Regions from separate parts of the Homo sapiens genome. Here region 2 is linked to region 1. The links are contacts of gene promoters, found by promoter capture Hi-C in human tissues and cell types (Jung and others, 2019). All regions are on one chromosome and are shown on one strand. The core of a region is centred on a gene start or on the middle of the fragment in contact, and the rest is flanking DNA. Distances in the headings are between cores, read along the strand shown.

What was found. The method cuts DNA at HindIII sites, captures the fragments that hold promoters and counts their contacts. A contact is called where the count stands out against the background at its distance.
Region 2: a fragment that was not itself captured here is called in contact with the fragment with the promoter of KIF26A in region 1 in 1 of the 25 tissues and cell types used here (dorsolateral prefrontal cortex).

What each region holds. Positions count from the first base shown.
Region 1 is chr14:104,135,936-104,142,923 of GRCh38, reverse strand. KIF26A (kinesin family member 26A) reads right to left here and starts at 4,337. Exons shown (of 15, transcript NM_015656.2): 1 at 4,160-4,337; 2 at 3,636-3,881. The coding sequence starts at 4,201. KIF26A-DT (KIF26A divergent transcript) reads left to right here and starts at 4,295. Exons shown (of 3, transcript NR_158217.1): 1 at 4,295-5,394; 2 at 5,682-6,057. RefSeq lists a silencer at 5,169-5,338 and enhancers at 5,035-5,746, 5,747-6,458, 6,745-6,988. The HindIII fragment of the contact is 16,750 bases long and covers 1-6,988 here.
Region 2 is chr14:104,188,808-104,195,863 of GRCh38, reverse strand. No RefSeq gene overlaps it. Among named protein-coding and RNA genes, the nearest start is that of LINC02691, 31 kb to the left of the region's middle. RefSeq lists an enhancer at 6,187-7,020. The HindIII fragment of the contact is 7,092 bases long and covers 1-5,496 here.

The sequences.
Region 1 (6,988 bases), core at 3,088-5,587:
GAGGGGCGGATAGCCGGAATCCAGCCCCAGCAGTCCCGGGGGTGACCACCAGCAAGTGGGGTGTGGGAGGAAAAGCCTGGTCATTCAGTCATTCAACAAACACCTCCAGGTGACCCGGACCCCATGCCTGACCTGGCAGAGCTCCTGCTTGTGGGGGAAACCAGGACTGGGGTCAGGGAGAGGGAAGAGGTCTGCCACAACAGTTTGCGGTGGTGGGTGAGCATGGGGAAGCGAGGGGGGCCTTAGATGTGGAGAAAGAGGGAGGCCCCAGCTTTGCCTGCTGAATGGGAGGCACCAGGCTGCAACCTCCCACAGGGACATCTCAGAGTTGGGGGCACCTGAGAAGGGGCCCCTGAGGCCAGAGCAGGGACACTGAGGGGCCTCCAGCCCAGGGAGGCCAGGGGGTCTTGGGATGAGGACAGCATCTATGGCAGGGCAGACAGAGCAGCCCATTAGAGAAAGGTCCCTGGAGGCCACAGGAGGCCAGGCCACAGGGGGCCGCTCCAGGCCATGGGGGTCCTGAAGTAGTCAGCCCGGAGACAAGGCCTGAGGACCCTGGTGAGAGCAGAGGGCACAGTGTGGGGACACAGTGAGGAGCAGGAGCCACGGCCAGAGTCCCATCATGGGGCTTCCCCTCCACACCCAGGGCCAAGCACCCTTCTCAGATCAGGAAAGACAATCCCCTGGGGCTCCAACAGGGGCAGGAAGACAATGTCCCCCTCCCCTACGGCCCCAGACGGGGCACCAGAGCTCAGAAAGGTGGGGAGGGCACAGTCTTATCCATGCCACAGGGATGAGGTCCCCAGATAGGGGACCATGGTCACCCTCACTGCCCAGACAAGGGAACTGAGACAGGCTCAGGCAGACAAGAGCACACAGCAAGGGAGAGGTAGGCCGGGAACCTGGGCTCCAACAGCCCCAGGGACTCGGAGTCCCTAACTCAGCAAACAGCAGCAGCAGCTGCCAAGGTGAGAGTGCATCCCTTCCGGGCACTGCTCTACGTACCTATGCAATGGGCACAAAGACGGTCCCATGTCGCAGAGCAGGAAACAGTGGCCAAGAACTCTCGGGAACCTGCTCAGGGGAGCTGCCTCCTGGCAGGAGGGTGGGCAAGGGCCCAGCAGGGGATGAGCATAGGCAGGACCATGCAGGCATCGGGTGTTGCTAAAGAGCAACACATTCAAGGAGACCCTGGCAGGCTGGGCCCGACCCTCTACGCCTCCCTCTACAACGGAGACAGGCAGGGAGACCCCGGCAGGCTGGGCCCCGACCCTCTACGCCTCCCTCTACAACGGAGACAGGCAGGGAGACCCTGGCAGGCTGGGCCCCGACCCTCTACGCCTCCCTCTACAACGGAGACAGGCAGGGAGACCCTGGCAGGCTGGGCCCCGACCCTCTACGCCTCCCTCTACAACGGAGACAGGCAGGAAGCCCGGAGGCGAGGGCCTCTAATAGCCAGGCCGGGTCCCAGCAAGTCTCTCCACTTCTCTGGGCTTCTGAAGATCCAAGCATGAGACAGATGGATGATTGTGAAGTTCCCTGTAAACAGCTATCCTCAAGGAAGCTCATCTCTCCCCTAAAAAATACGAAACGGGCCCCTGGGGAAATCCTAGAACACCAACCCTAAATACCCCTTGCCACGTTGGCCTTACAGAGCAGAGGCCAGGGCCCACTGGACAGTGCACCAGACTCCGGGGAGCACACTGGGGTCTCCCTGGCCACCCCAGAGATTTCCCTCCCAACCCAAACACAGAAGCAGCCATGTCCACACATCTGGGCCCAGCGGGCCAGGCCAGGGCTGCAGGCTGCAATTTTGCTGGGACTCTGGGGACAGCCCAGGCCCGCACAGGGGACAGGACAATGACACCCGTAAGGCCCCAGGATGGCAGGTGCAGCCCCCCATGCCCTGTGGAGAGACAGTGGAGGATGGGGTCTTCTCTCCCGGGGGCACAGCACCCTGCAGGTGGGACAGCACTTCACAACAGGCCCCAGGTGACAGAGGAGACCACAAAGCAGAAGAAGGGGGCCCAGAGCAGAACAAAGCCCTGGCTGAGACCAGCCCGGGACCCCGGTGTGCTGAGTGCCAGCGCCAGCTAGGGAAGGGGGAGCCCCCAGCTGGCACTCAAGAGGAGTTTCCAGTGTCAAAGGCCAAGCTCAGGGGAGGCTGGAGATGGGTGGTCTGGGGCTCCCCTGAAGACCTGTCTGCCAGAAGAGACCAAGACACCCCCCTAGATGAGGAACCTAGAATCCACCAGGGACTAGTATCACCTGCAGCCCTCTCCACTAGGACCCCTGGCCTGCCCGTGACCAGGAGCCCCCTCCCCTCCACGAGTCCATGCCAGGACCATGGCCCCAGGGCCAGGCAGCATCAGCAGTCCAAGCCCACTCCAAGAATGAGGAGACCAGCTCAATCTTAATGCCCCTCCTGTCTCTGGCGTGTTTCCCCTAATGGGGCAGCAAGATGGGCCTTTAGCTCTGGCTGGCCCTCTCCAGGGGGCCCTCAAGGGTCTCCTGCTACCTTTTAAACTAGATACAGGCCACTGGGGCACAGAGTATGGCCAAGGCTGCAGCCTGTCCAGAGCAGAGGACAGGGCGGGTCCAGCCCCACCCCAGGACAGGCCCACAGGCGCCTGGCCTGAGCCAGAGAGAGGCTACAGCAATCCTATCCCTCGCCGAGACTCCAGAGAGCCCGGAGACGGTGCCCAGGACAGAAACCAGACTGGTACCCTGCCCCACCCTGCCCTGCCCCAGACAGGGCAGTCAGGGTCTCAGCTCACTCCAACCCCCACAGCCCTTAGAGAACTATATTTAGATTCAATGGGGATTATGCGGACTTCCCAGGAACTCTTTCATAAAGGCTGAAGGCCCGGCAGCGGGCTTCCTCTGGAGACCCCCACCCGCCCCCAGCCTTTGCAAACTTCCAGCATGCATTGTTCCTGGAACAATGGTCCCTGCTCCCTCCAAAGCCGGCAGGCCCACTGGCTGGAAATCCAGGAGAACCCCTCCCCTGCAAGCACCTGCCCCTGGGGCTGGAGCCTGGGGAACCCAGAGGGCCCCGACTCAATTCCCCATGGGCGGCCACTGCCTCAGTCTATCCCAGGAGGTATGGGACAACAGTTCTTATCCTTGAGGCTGGGAGAGGAGTAGGCAGGGACCCCCCAGCTGCTGTGGCCCACCCTTTCACCTGCCAGGCCCCCCGGCCCCAGGTATGTAATTTCCAGACACCTGGCTGGGGGCCCAGGTGCCCCAAGGGCCACAATGCACCAAATAACCTCTCCCTGCTGGTAGGGCTGGAGCTGTCCCGCCCTGGGTGGAGTCCCTGCCATCCGCTCTCTCCCCTCCTCCTCCCACACAAACCTGCGTTCCAGCTGTGGGACATCTGGGCTGGGGGAGGAACGCCAGCCCAGGCCCCTCCCATCCGAGGCAGCAGGGCCCCTCGGGCTGAGCTCCCTAGCTCACACATGGTGTTACAGACCGGGAAACTGAGGCCCGCAGAAGGGAAGTCCTGGCTGATAACTCTTTGTGGAAACAGCAGCAGGGAAGGAGTGGAACCCTGCTTCCCTCCAAGCCCCAAGTTCTACCCAAGTTCGGCGTGGCCCTGCTCGGAGGGGTCGGCCTAAGGAAGTGTCACTTACCCGGAGGGTGGTCCCGGGCCCGCTGACCAGCTTCCACGCCTGTCGCTTGAGCTCCACCAGCTTCGTGTGGCAGTGGCGGCACCAGCCGCCTCCGCCGGCCGAGTGGCCCTGCTCTGGGCCGGCCCCGGCGCCTTCGGGAGCAGGGCGGCTGCCGCATGGGTCCTGGTCGGGCCCGGCGGGTAGCCTCTTTCGGGGGGACACCTCCAGCAGCGGCGGCGGCTCGCGGGCCGGGCCGCCCTCGGCCACCTGCAGGGTGTGGGGGCGGAAGCGGACAGTGAGCCTGGGACGTCCGTCGGATCCAGACCCCTGCGCGCCCTGCCCCAGCGTGACGCTCTTGCCAAAGTTAGGAGCCCTGGGCACGACCCTGGCGCTCACCCACTCCCTCCATCCCCGGAGGTCCCGCCTGCGGGTCCGCTACCCTCAGCAGGAGGCCCGGCCCCCAGGGATCCAGCGCACACCGCGAGTATCTTCGCCGTCCCGGGCCCCCGCCGCCCGCCTCCCTCTCCAGGCCGGGCCGCGCGTACCGCGGGCTGCGCAGCGCACAGAGGGACGCCGCGGCCGACCATGGCCGGGGCGCGGGAAGAGCCCGGCAGGCGCTCCCGGCCACGCTGGCTCTCCGGGGGCGCCGCGGCTACGTGATCCGGCCCCGAGGCGCCCCCATGGCCCGGCCCAGCCGCTCGGAAGTTCGCAGAGCCTGCGAGTGTCGCGAGGAGCGCGGTGGCTCCGGTGGGCGCGCTCGGGAGGCGAGGGCGGGGCCGGGGAAGGGCGGGGCTCGGGCTCCCGGGGCGGGCGGCGAGGGGCGGGAGCCCAGAGAGTGCCCCGCCCTTGCCCAGTGCTGGGCGGCGCGTGGGGGGGGTAGGGTCCCCGCTTCCCCACGCGGCCCCGCGCACTCCAAGGACCCCAACCTGTTAGGTGAGTCCCTGCCCCGGGGAGGGGCGCTGGGGGCGGCGGCGAGGATCTAGTTGCGCGCGCGCATGCGCCTCCCGCCCCTCTCCCGGGACACCAGGGCTGCGCGTCTCCCAGGAGGCGCCGACGCCCCTCCCTCTACAGGCGGGAAAACTGAGGCTGCGGAGGGGACGCTCTTGCCCAAGGCCCACGGCGAGGTGGGCCGAGGAAGGGGCGGGACCCCGGCCCCGAGACTCCCAGGCGCCTTTCCAGCAAGCCCAGCGTACTCTGCGTGTCGCGGGCCACTTTAGGTCTAACTGTCGCGCGTGGGTTAGTGTCGCCGCGGTGTGCGCCTCGAGCCGGGCAGCGACCGCGCCGGCGTATCTGTGCCTCGGCGCGTCTGCGAACGGCACGTGTCTTTACAGCCGCGCGTGTGCCCGCAAGTGGGTGTGCGCGCCGTGCCGCCCGGGAAGCGGGAGGTCCTGCGGGCGTGCGCCGGACCTGTTGTCAGCAGGCCTGGCAGATGGGAACTCAGCTCCGGAATTAATTGCTTGTTTGTCTCCGGCTGGGAGGCCGCCCCCCCGCCCTTCCCTGGCGACCAGTTGCTCTGTGCCTAGCCGGGCCCCAAATGTCGCCGGCATCCGCGGCCGCAGGCAGCTCCGGGCCAGGCTCCGGGTCAGCCCCAAAGCCCGGGTCAAGCCAGGCGGGCGCGGCGGGCGGGCTCCCCGTGACGCGAGTGCCCCCTGCCGGCCGCTGCGCACACGGCTCCGAGACTGGGGAGACAGCGCCGCGCGTCCCAGGCCTGAGGCGCACTCGGAAACTCCGAAGGTCGTGACCCGGCGGAGACCAGGACACGCGGCTGCCGGCACATACGGTGAGGCCTTCGCAGAGACTCAGTACGTCAAAGTGACCCTTTCCGTTTTGCCCACCCCCTTTTACTTGGATAAGCCTCCCCGCCCACGCACGCACTCCCCAGAAAGTGGGGTGGGTGATCCCCTCCCGGCTTTCCGGGTCGTTGATGACCTTAGGGGTTCGAAAACGCAAGGGGGTATGGAATAAAGTGGCAGGGGCTCTCCACTCTTTCTGAGATCCGTAAGCCTGCAGTCGCTTTCCACCCAGCCTGGGGGGCCGGAAGCGCTTCCCCTACCCGTCTCTTCGCAGCCTGGAGAATGAAAACGGGCGTCAGCCCACATCTGGATCTGGGTACTGAGGACAACACCCAAACCCCACCCCGCACTGCCGGCAGACAGCACCGCCTCCCGCCGCTCCACTGCTCCGGGACACACACTCTCTATATCCCGTCCCCCCACCCACACACGCAACACAGAAGCACGCAGCGGTCGGGAGCACCGGTCCTGCGCCCCTGGCCAGCCACACCCGCAACTTCAGCGCTTCTACCGCCGCGGCGCTTCGGGAAGCACAAGCTCACATCCCATATCCGCAGAACACGGGGTGCACAAGGCTGGAGTCACCTCGGGGGCTCACGATCAGTCAGGGGCCCCGACCCCCTACTTCGCCCATCCTAGCAAGGCGCAAGGTGAGCCCGAGAATCCCTGCGCTGCGCTCTCCGCCCTAGCCACAGCCTCCGGGTGGGTCCGGTTGGGACACAGCCTTGAAGGCAGAGGGAGACTTGGACAACGCTAATGGGGGAAAGTGCGGCAGCGAGTCCCAGCCCGGGCTGCGGGACGCGGCTCCGGACCTGCCGTCTCCTTCCCGGCGCAGCACCCCCGGCCGCGCGAGCCGCGCGGCAAAGTAACGGGACGGCGCCTACGCCGCCCGCCCCCCTCCCGACAGCCCTCACCTTGCCTCGTCGCCGCAGGAGGTGGCTGGTGAAGCCCAGGATGATCTCCGAGTCCAGGCAGAGCGCCCCCATCTCCAGCAGGCTGGGAGCCTTGCGGGGCGCGCCGCGGGGCGGCTCGGGCGGCTGGGGCAGCGCCATGGAAGAGGGAAGCGCGGGGAGCGGCCCCTAGTGCCTCCCGCCACCGCCGCCCCGCCCGCGCGTTCACTGGCCGCGCGCCCGCCGCCGCCGCGCCCCGCACCGCGCAGGGCCGCCCGTCAAGCCCCCGGTCCTCCGCGCCCCGCGCCCCCGAGCCCTGCGCTCGCTCCGCGCCGCGCGCCCCCGCGCTCCGGCCCCGCCCGCCTGCGCCGACAGCGCCCCTTCCGCCCCGGCGGCGAGCCAGACACCAGCCACGCGGACTGGAGGTGTGGGGCGACGGCCCCGCGCGCCACTGGGCGGAGGTTGGAAGCCAGAATCGGGTCGCGGTCCGCGCCCACCTGCCTCGCTAGCCCCCAGACGTCGGTGTCTACTGCCGGGTATCCGGCAGGGAGAGGGCAGCGCGGCTGCTGTAAAACCCTTCCGACTGGGGCATAATCGCAGCCCCTTCCCCCTCCAATCTGTCCTGAGGACACGGCGCGTTGGGGTCCTGGCCCATGGAAACGCTCAGAGCCCAGTGACCTGTGCACTCCAC
Region 2 (7,056 bases), core at 701-3,200, 55 kb before region 1:
GCCCAAAGCTTCCACCTGGAGCTGCCTATGGGACACGTCCCCCGGACCACCCAAAGCATCTCAGACCCAACCAGGCCCCCAAACCACGCTGGCCTCCTGTGGGCCCAGGCCCCACGCCTCACCCTTCCGCCAAACTCAAGCTGCCTCTGCCATGCCGGATGCCCCAGCCTCCTTCACCCCACAAGCCTGCCCTGCTGCTGCCCACCATGCGGCCCCATCTCCAGCTTCCGCTCGTCGCCCAGCCTCACCTGCGTCTCCTGGGGCTGTTTGACTGCTTTTCATTCTTTTACTCCTCGACTGCCCCGTCTGCAGGAGAGGGCTGTGAGGTCAGCCGGCCAGGACAGGGTTCCCTCCACAGCCTCTCACCCACCCCGGAGCGATCCAGGGGTCTGCTGAGTTCCCCGGGCAAGAAGCAGCCCGGCCTGCCCTGGGCCCAGCAAGCTAAGGCCCGGGGACACCCAATGGCTGTGGGTCCTTTCTGTGTTTCAGACTCAGATTCCCTGGGATGGGTGATGCATCAGAGTCCTGTCCAGCATGCAGGGCCTCATCCCACCCTCTCCCTCCCACTCAGCCTCCCGCACCACCCTTCCCTGCCTCACCCCATGCCCCCAGCAGTCTCTGACGCCCCCAGAATTGGAAAGGGGGTGGTTTGGGAAGGAGAGACCCTGCTGGTGGTCTGGGCACAGGTGGGACTTCCAAACCGCAAGCAGCCCCTGCTGCTGTCCCTGGGGTGTCTCTGACTCCCGCCACTACTACAGGGCACCTGTCTCAGGTGGGCTGCTGTCCTTGGCCGCACGAGAACTCTGCACAGGGTCTTCACTCCTCGCTGTGGCCCGGTCCGCTAGCAGGAGGGTCTGCGTGTGCAGAGTGGTCTATGGAGAGACCCCAGGGCAGGGACTGCGAGGGGGCTCGTTGAAAGGACCACTGTCCAGTCCCCAAGAGTGAACACCAAGCAGGGGGGCCAGCATGCCGTGCCCCCCTTGGCCCCATCCTCAGCCTGGCATGCTGGGCCCTGCCTGGCCGCCCCCACAGCTCAGCCAACAGTAGAGCTCAGCCCTGGCCTCACCGAACACAGACATCCCCTGAAACAGACACCTGCCAGAAGGACCCTCACCCCTGCATCTCTGGTTCTCTCTGCCCTTCCAGGTTCCCCTAAGCACCTCCTCTTCCGGGAAGTCTTCCCTAACCACCCCTGGCCCAGATGGAAGCACTTCCCTTCCTCTGAGTCCCCCGCACTTTCTCTGCCTCTCTACTGGCCTAATCGTCTGCTAGACCATCAGTCACCTGCTGGACCGTAGGTGACACCCTGGACCGTAGAAGCTCTTAAGAGTCTTAAGAGCTTCAGTCTACACCTGACTTCCCTCCCTCAACACAGCCCTGACACAGCACGAGCTGAGAGCTTAGGTCTAGGGAACTAAAGAAGAACTAGAAAAGTCTGGCTTCACTGAGCCCACCATGTGCTGGGCACCGGGGATCATCACGCACACCACCCACTTCACCCTCCAGGACGAGGGACAGCTCTCCCCATTGTCCAGAAGAGGAAATCGCTGCCCAGCAAGGACAGAGCTGAAGGCCCAGCCTAGCCTCGCTGCTCCGGAGCCCTGGATGGGCAGGTGCCCTGCCGTCCGGAACCCACGGCACCCAGCCAGGACCATGGAGAGACAGGCACCTGCTCCAGGATGGCACATCCACACTCCTGAGCTGAGGAGATTGTGGAGCCAAGACTGTCTCTGCAGAAGCCGTTCATCCACCCCCTCCCCTCTGCCCAGCCCTGACCCCTCATGGCTCAGGGTGCGCGGGCCACCTCGGCCAGAGGCCTTCCCAGCGCTGAACTGTGCAAATATTTGTTTCTTTAAGAGAAAAGAAGACCCTCTGGTACTTCCAAGGGAGCATAAATGGGGCCCCAGGAAACCCCACCAGGATATGGGGCTGGCTGATGCCTGGAAGCAGCTCAAAGCAAACCAGGTAATTACCAAAAAACCAGGTAAAAACCAAAAACAGACCAACCAGAGCAGGACCTGACTTCATGGTGAACAAATGTTCTTTGTGTTTTTAAGTGAATGCTGCATTTTAAGCCAATCCCTTCCCACCTGCCCCCGCCACTGCCATGCTCCCCCTGTGCCCAGGTCACCTGGACAGAGGCTCTTCCTGGACCAGCCCTGAGAGCTTGAGGGTCCCGACCCTGCCATGGCACTGGGGCTGGGTGGAGGCACTGAGGGTGAGGAGGGAACCCAAGTTGATGCCCCGGTTCCGGAAGAGGATGAAACAGGGCCCCCAGGAGGGGTGCACAGGGGAGAACAAGTCTGAGAGATCTGGGGGCCGGAGGGACATGGGGCAGATACCAGAGAAACGATGGAACTGCAGATGTGGGGCACAGGGATGGGGTCTGGGGGCCAAGGTGGCCCAGGGGGACGTGAAGCCCCAGGGCAGGGGCAGGTGGCCCAGGGAGAGTGCAGGGAGGAGGACAGGGCTGAGGGCCACAAAGGGACAGATGAAAGACACATCCACAGGGTGGGGGGGAGTGGCCGGGGTGGGGGCCGAGAAGTGGGCACAGATGCCAAGAGAAGGGCACCAGGGCTCTGCCTTTGAAGGCTGTGAGATCTCGCCCAGCAGAGGCCTCGGTGGTTGGGGAGGAGAGGGCTGAGCAGCCTTGCGAGAGGAGACCACCCCAGCCTTGATTTCCCCAGGGGTGCACTGGGGTAGGTCCCTGGGAGTGGGCTGGGGTCTCCCACAAGGCCTCCCTGGGGGCTGGGAGCTCATTTGCGAGTCTGCTCAACCTGCCCCGGCTCTATGTTCACACCCCATGTATTGCCACCCGACGCCACGATGCCTGTGCCTGGTGCGCTGCTGCTAGAAGCTCTCAAGTGCGGCGGAGCCCCCTCCTCACCCAACTCACAGCAAAGGGAGCAGGAGAGAGAGCAGGCCAACCAGCCACAGGCAGGGGGCATCCCCACCCCTGCCTCAGCTCTGGGTGAGGCCCTTGGGAGACAGAAGCAGGACAGCCCCCAAGAGCTGGGCAGAAAGACGAGGGCAGAGGGCCCCGGGTAGCTGAGCCTGAGATTGGGGAGCTGCCTGGAGCAGGGAGCCAGGTACACACAGGGGCAGGGCTGTCCCCAGACCAAGACCTGCCCACAGGCCTCAGCAGGCACATCCCATGTGCCAGCCCGCCCAACGCCCAGCCCCTTCCTTTTCCCCTGCCTCCAGCTCATTCCTTGCCCCCAGAAGCCAGAGCCTGTCCCACTGACCCCACCATCCCATCTGAACCACCACCCAGCTGCTCCAGCTGGCCAGGCTGTGGGTGCTGAGCTGTTCTGAAGAGTGAGGGCACCAGGCTCCCGGAGGAGCCCTCAAGGCCAACCAGTCTCAGGAGCAGGGGCAGAGTCCATGCCGAGTGCGAGGAGACCCCTCTGCCCCTCTGCAGTGCCCCTCCGGCTCCACCAGGCTCACCCCAGGGGCAGACGCAACCCAGTGTGGCCCCAGGGTGGGTCTGGCCCTCCTTGTGGCCGCCCGTCCTCCTGCCCAGACCCAGGGCTCTGCTGCGAGGCGAGGCAGGGAGAGGCCTGGCTCTCCTTCCTCCCGTCAGCCTTGCACAGGCCGGCCTGCCCTGGACCTGGCCTTCCTGGTCTGTAACACGGGGTGACACGGATACCTGCCCACGCCTGGACATGGAGGGGCCCCGATAAATCCCCGTGGCAATGGCAGCAAATAGTCACTGCCCTAGAGAGGACCAGGCAGCAGCTCCTGGTGCCCCCACCCTGTGCCGCTGGCTCCGGGCACTTCACAGGCCTTTTTCTATTTCCCAGGCTCCATGTTGAGTCCACACAGCTGGTGGGAGCAGAGCCTGGCCGTGGACCCGACGGGAGGCTGCACTGTGCACACATCATCCTACCCCTGTCCGTGCCATCCCCATTGGAGCCAAATCCATTGGCGTTCCTTATGTGCCAGGCACCACTAAGCTGCATACTCCGGGTCAAATCATCTAACTGAGCCCCAGTGAGGTAGGGGTGAATACGGATCTCCAGTTTCAGAGGAGCACAGAGAGGTTCAGTAGCACACCTGGGGTCACACAGCAGGCAGAATTTGCACTCAGATAGCCCAGCTGGTCTGGGCACTGAGGCCAGTCACTGCCCGACACTCCGTGTCTCTGTGACACTAGGTGAGCCCCACCCAGGAACGGGAGGCAGGAACTGGCAGGCCCTGGGCCGTGTGGTCCGTGCAGGTGGGTTCCCAGGCAGAGCCGCCTCTCCCTGCGGTGCTGCTCTGTGATGGACCCGTCAGACCCAGGAGGTCAGCCCCGATGGCCGCCTCAATCCGCAATTGCCGTTCAGCTGACAGCAGCGTGGATTTACGAGCAGCCCTCTGCCTCCCCACGGTGGCCGAGCCACCATGCCCACCCCAACCTGGGACCAGTCCTCAGACCTCCTAGGGTCTTGGCCCACACGTCCTCTGTTCCCCTGAATGCAGGTGCAAGGGGAGGCCCCTGCCTGCATTCCCCACCTCTGCCTCTCACCCACCAAAACTTCTTGCCCCAAAGCCTCTGCTCTCCCCATTCAGGGACCCACCCACCTCCACTGTGCAGGGAGCCCTAAGCCTCCAAGTTCCCATTTCCATAATGGGGAAACTGAGGCCCAGGGGGCTGAGGTCACAGGTCGGAGCTGGCTCCTGCAAGGCCAGGCTGTGGCTCTCGCCAGACCTTTCCAACCTCCACCCTTTAAAGTGCAAAAATCAAAGGTCAGTGTCATTTCACCAGTGCGAGGCCAAGGGGCTTTCCTAGGTCACAGGGCAGTTTTTGATGCTGAGTCTGGGAGTACAGCCCACCTCTGCAGCCTGGCTCATGGCGGGGAGCAGGGAGGAGGCACGGGATGGAGGCAACTGGGGTTCAGGACAGTGAGCTGCAGGCCCGACCAGCCCCACCCTCTGCCCCCAGGGCAGGAATCAGGAATGGAGACAGCTAGCGTGGACCCCCGGCCTCCCCAGCACTCCCACCTCAGCCTCTGTGCCTGCCTTTCCCGCTCCCAGAGTCCCCTCTTCAGAACCAGCCACATAATTTTGGGTGGGGCCCACAGCGTAACAGAAACCCTGGGCACCTTATCCAAGAGTCGTTATGAACTTCAAGGTGGCGACGACTGGGCATAACAGTGTGGGTCCTTCTGAGTGTGGCCCCATTACTGCCAGGTCTCAGCCCTGCCCCTGCCTTCCATCCTGCCTCCTCCACCCACATCCCACCCTCAGCAGCCCCCTTGCCCTCCCGCACGCCCCCTTCCCTGGGCTCCACAGATACAGCCTACACCGGGAAGCCCATCTGCCCTGGGGGGACCCTCTGAGGGTTTGGGCCAGTCTACCTAGGCTCTGGCCTGGAAGTCACCAAGCACAGCTGGCCACAGGCCACCAGAGGCCACCTTCCCATGCATGTCCTGGCCGGGTACCAGTCTGAGACAATAGTGGCCCAAAAGAAGCTTCTGGAAGAAAATGCTGGTGCTCTACTCCAGGTTCCTTCAGGGGACACTCCAAAGCAGCACTGGGCTCTGAGCTGAAGCTTCAATCCCCAAACTCACAGATTCCCAGGTCCTCCCACCTCAGATCCTCAGACCCAGGACCCCCAGATCCCCAAACCCACAGCCCTGAACCCCCGACCCTGGAGCCCAGCCTCCTTCTCCCGGCAGCAGCTCAGAGGCCTCCTCTGCCCGCAAGAGCAGCCCCCGGTCTAGCACCTGAGCCCAGGTGTCCAGCAGAGTGGGCTTGGGTCTGCAGGCCACCCAACCTTTGCTGGGCAGATTTGCTCCCTGTGCCAGTCTGTGGGAACGCAGGCCAAGTTCCTCCCCTCCCCACGGGCTTGCCAGGAAGAGCTGGAGGTGGGGACTGGTGGGGGAGCCCCCATGCCAGGGCTCCAAGAAGATGGACATAAGAGCAGGGCATCGGGTCCCATGACTCCTGAGTGCACGTGTGTGTGTGTGCATGCATGCGCCCATGTGCGCATGTGTGTGTACATGTGTGTCCCTAAGTGCATGTGTGCCCGTGTGCATGCGTGTGTGCGGGTGTGCCCCTACGTGCCTGTGTGCCCGTGTGCATGTATGTGTGTACATGTGTGTCCCTAGGTGCATGTGTGCCCGTGTGTGCATGTGCGCCCCTATGTGCATGTGCACCCGTGTGTGCACGTGTGTGCACGTGTGTGTCCCTAGGTGCATGTGCGCCCGTGTGTGCATGTATGTGTACGGGTGTGCCTCTACGTGCATGTGTGCCCATGTGTGCATGTGTGTACATGTGTCCCTACGTGCATGTGCCCATGTGTGTGTGTGTGTGCTCATGTATGTGTGTGCTCATGTATGTGTGCACCTGCTCATGTGTGCACACACCAAGTGATAAATCTGGCCACCTAGAGGAGGTGTTTTACTCTCCTCTGTGCCTTATTAACAAACTGCATGGCCTGACACGCGCAGCCGGGGACTGAATCTCTCAGGCAGATCAGCATAACGGGAAGTAAGTAAACAGTGGCCTGCACCAGCCTCCAGGTCCCACCTCGGACTAACTGGGCCTGGGCGCCCTCCTGCACCAACGGCTCAGAGCCCTGGCCATGCCGCCAGCCCCGTGGCACTGTGAGGCTGTAGGGGGCCTGCTACCTGCCTCCTCACCCCCTGTACTGTCCCAGGGACCCTGGCTCCCCTCACACAGCAGCCAGCCCTGAGGAACTGCCCTCCCAGGTGCTCAGCCAGCCCGTTGGGTAAAGCTAACAGGAGCCTTCTGCGCTGCTGAGGAGGAAACAACGAACACAGGTGCAGGGGGGCCTCACTGGGGTCCCCCCTGAGACAGAGTGCATGGCCCCCTTGCTCTCCAGGCCCCCGCCAGGCCAGCCAGGCCCCATCCCTGCCCATCTCAGGGAACTCCTCCGGCAGCCCAGGTGGGAAGTGGCAGAGCTGGGGTTGGAACCCAGGCGATTTCCAGCACCGATGCTTTGCAGGCTGTCTCAGAGGCAGATGCCCTCCTGGCTCAGCCACCTCCAGGCCAGAATGGACTGATCCCTCCTGCCTTGGCAGAGAGGTGTCGCCTGCCCATGGCCCA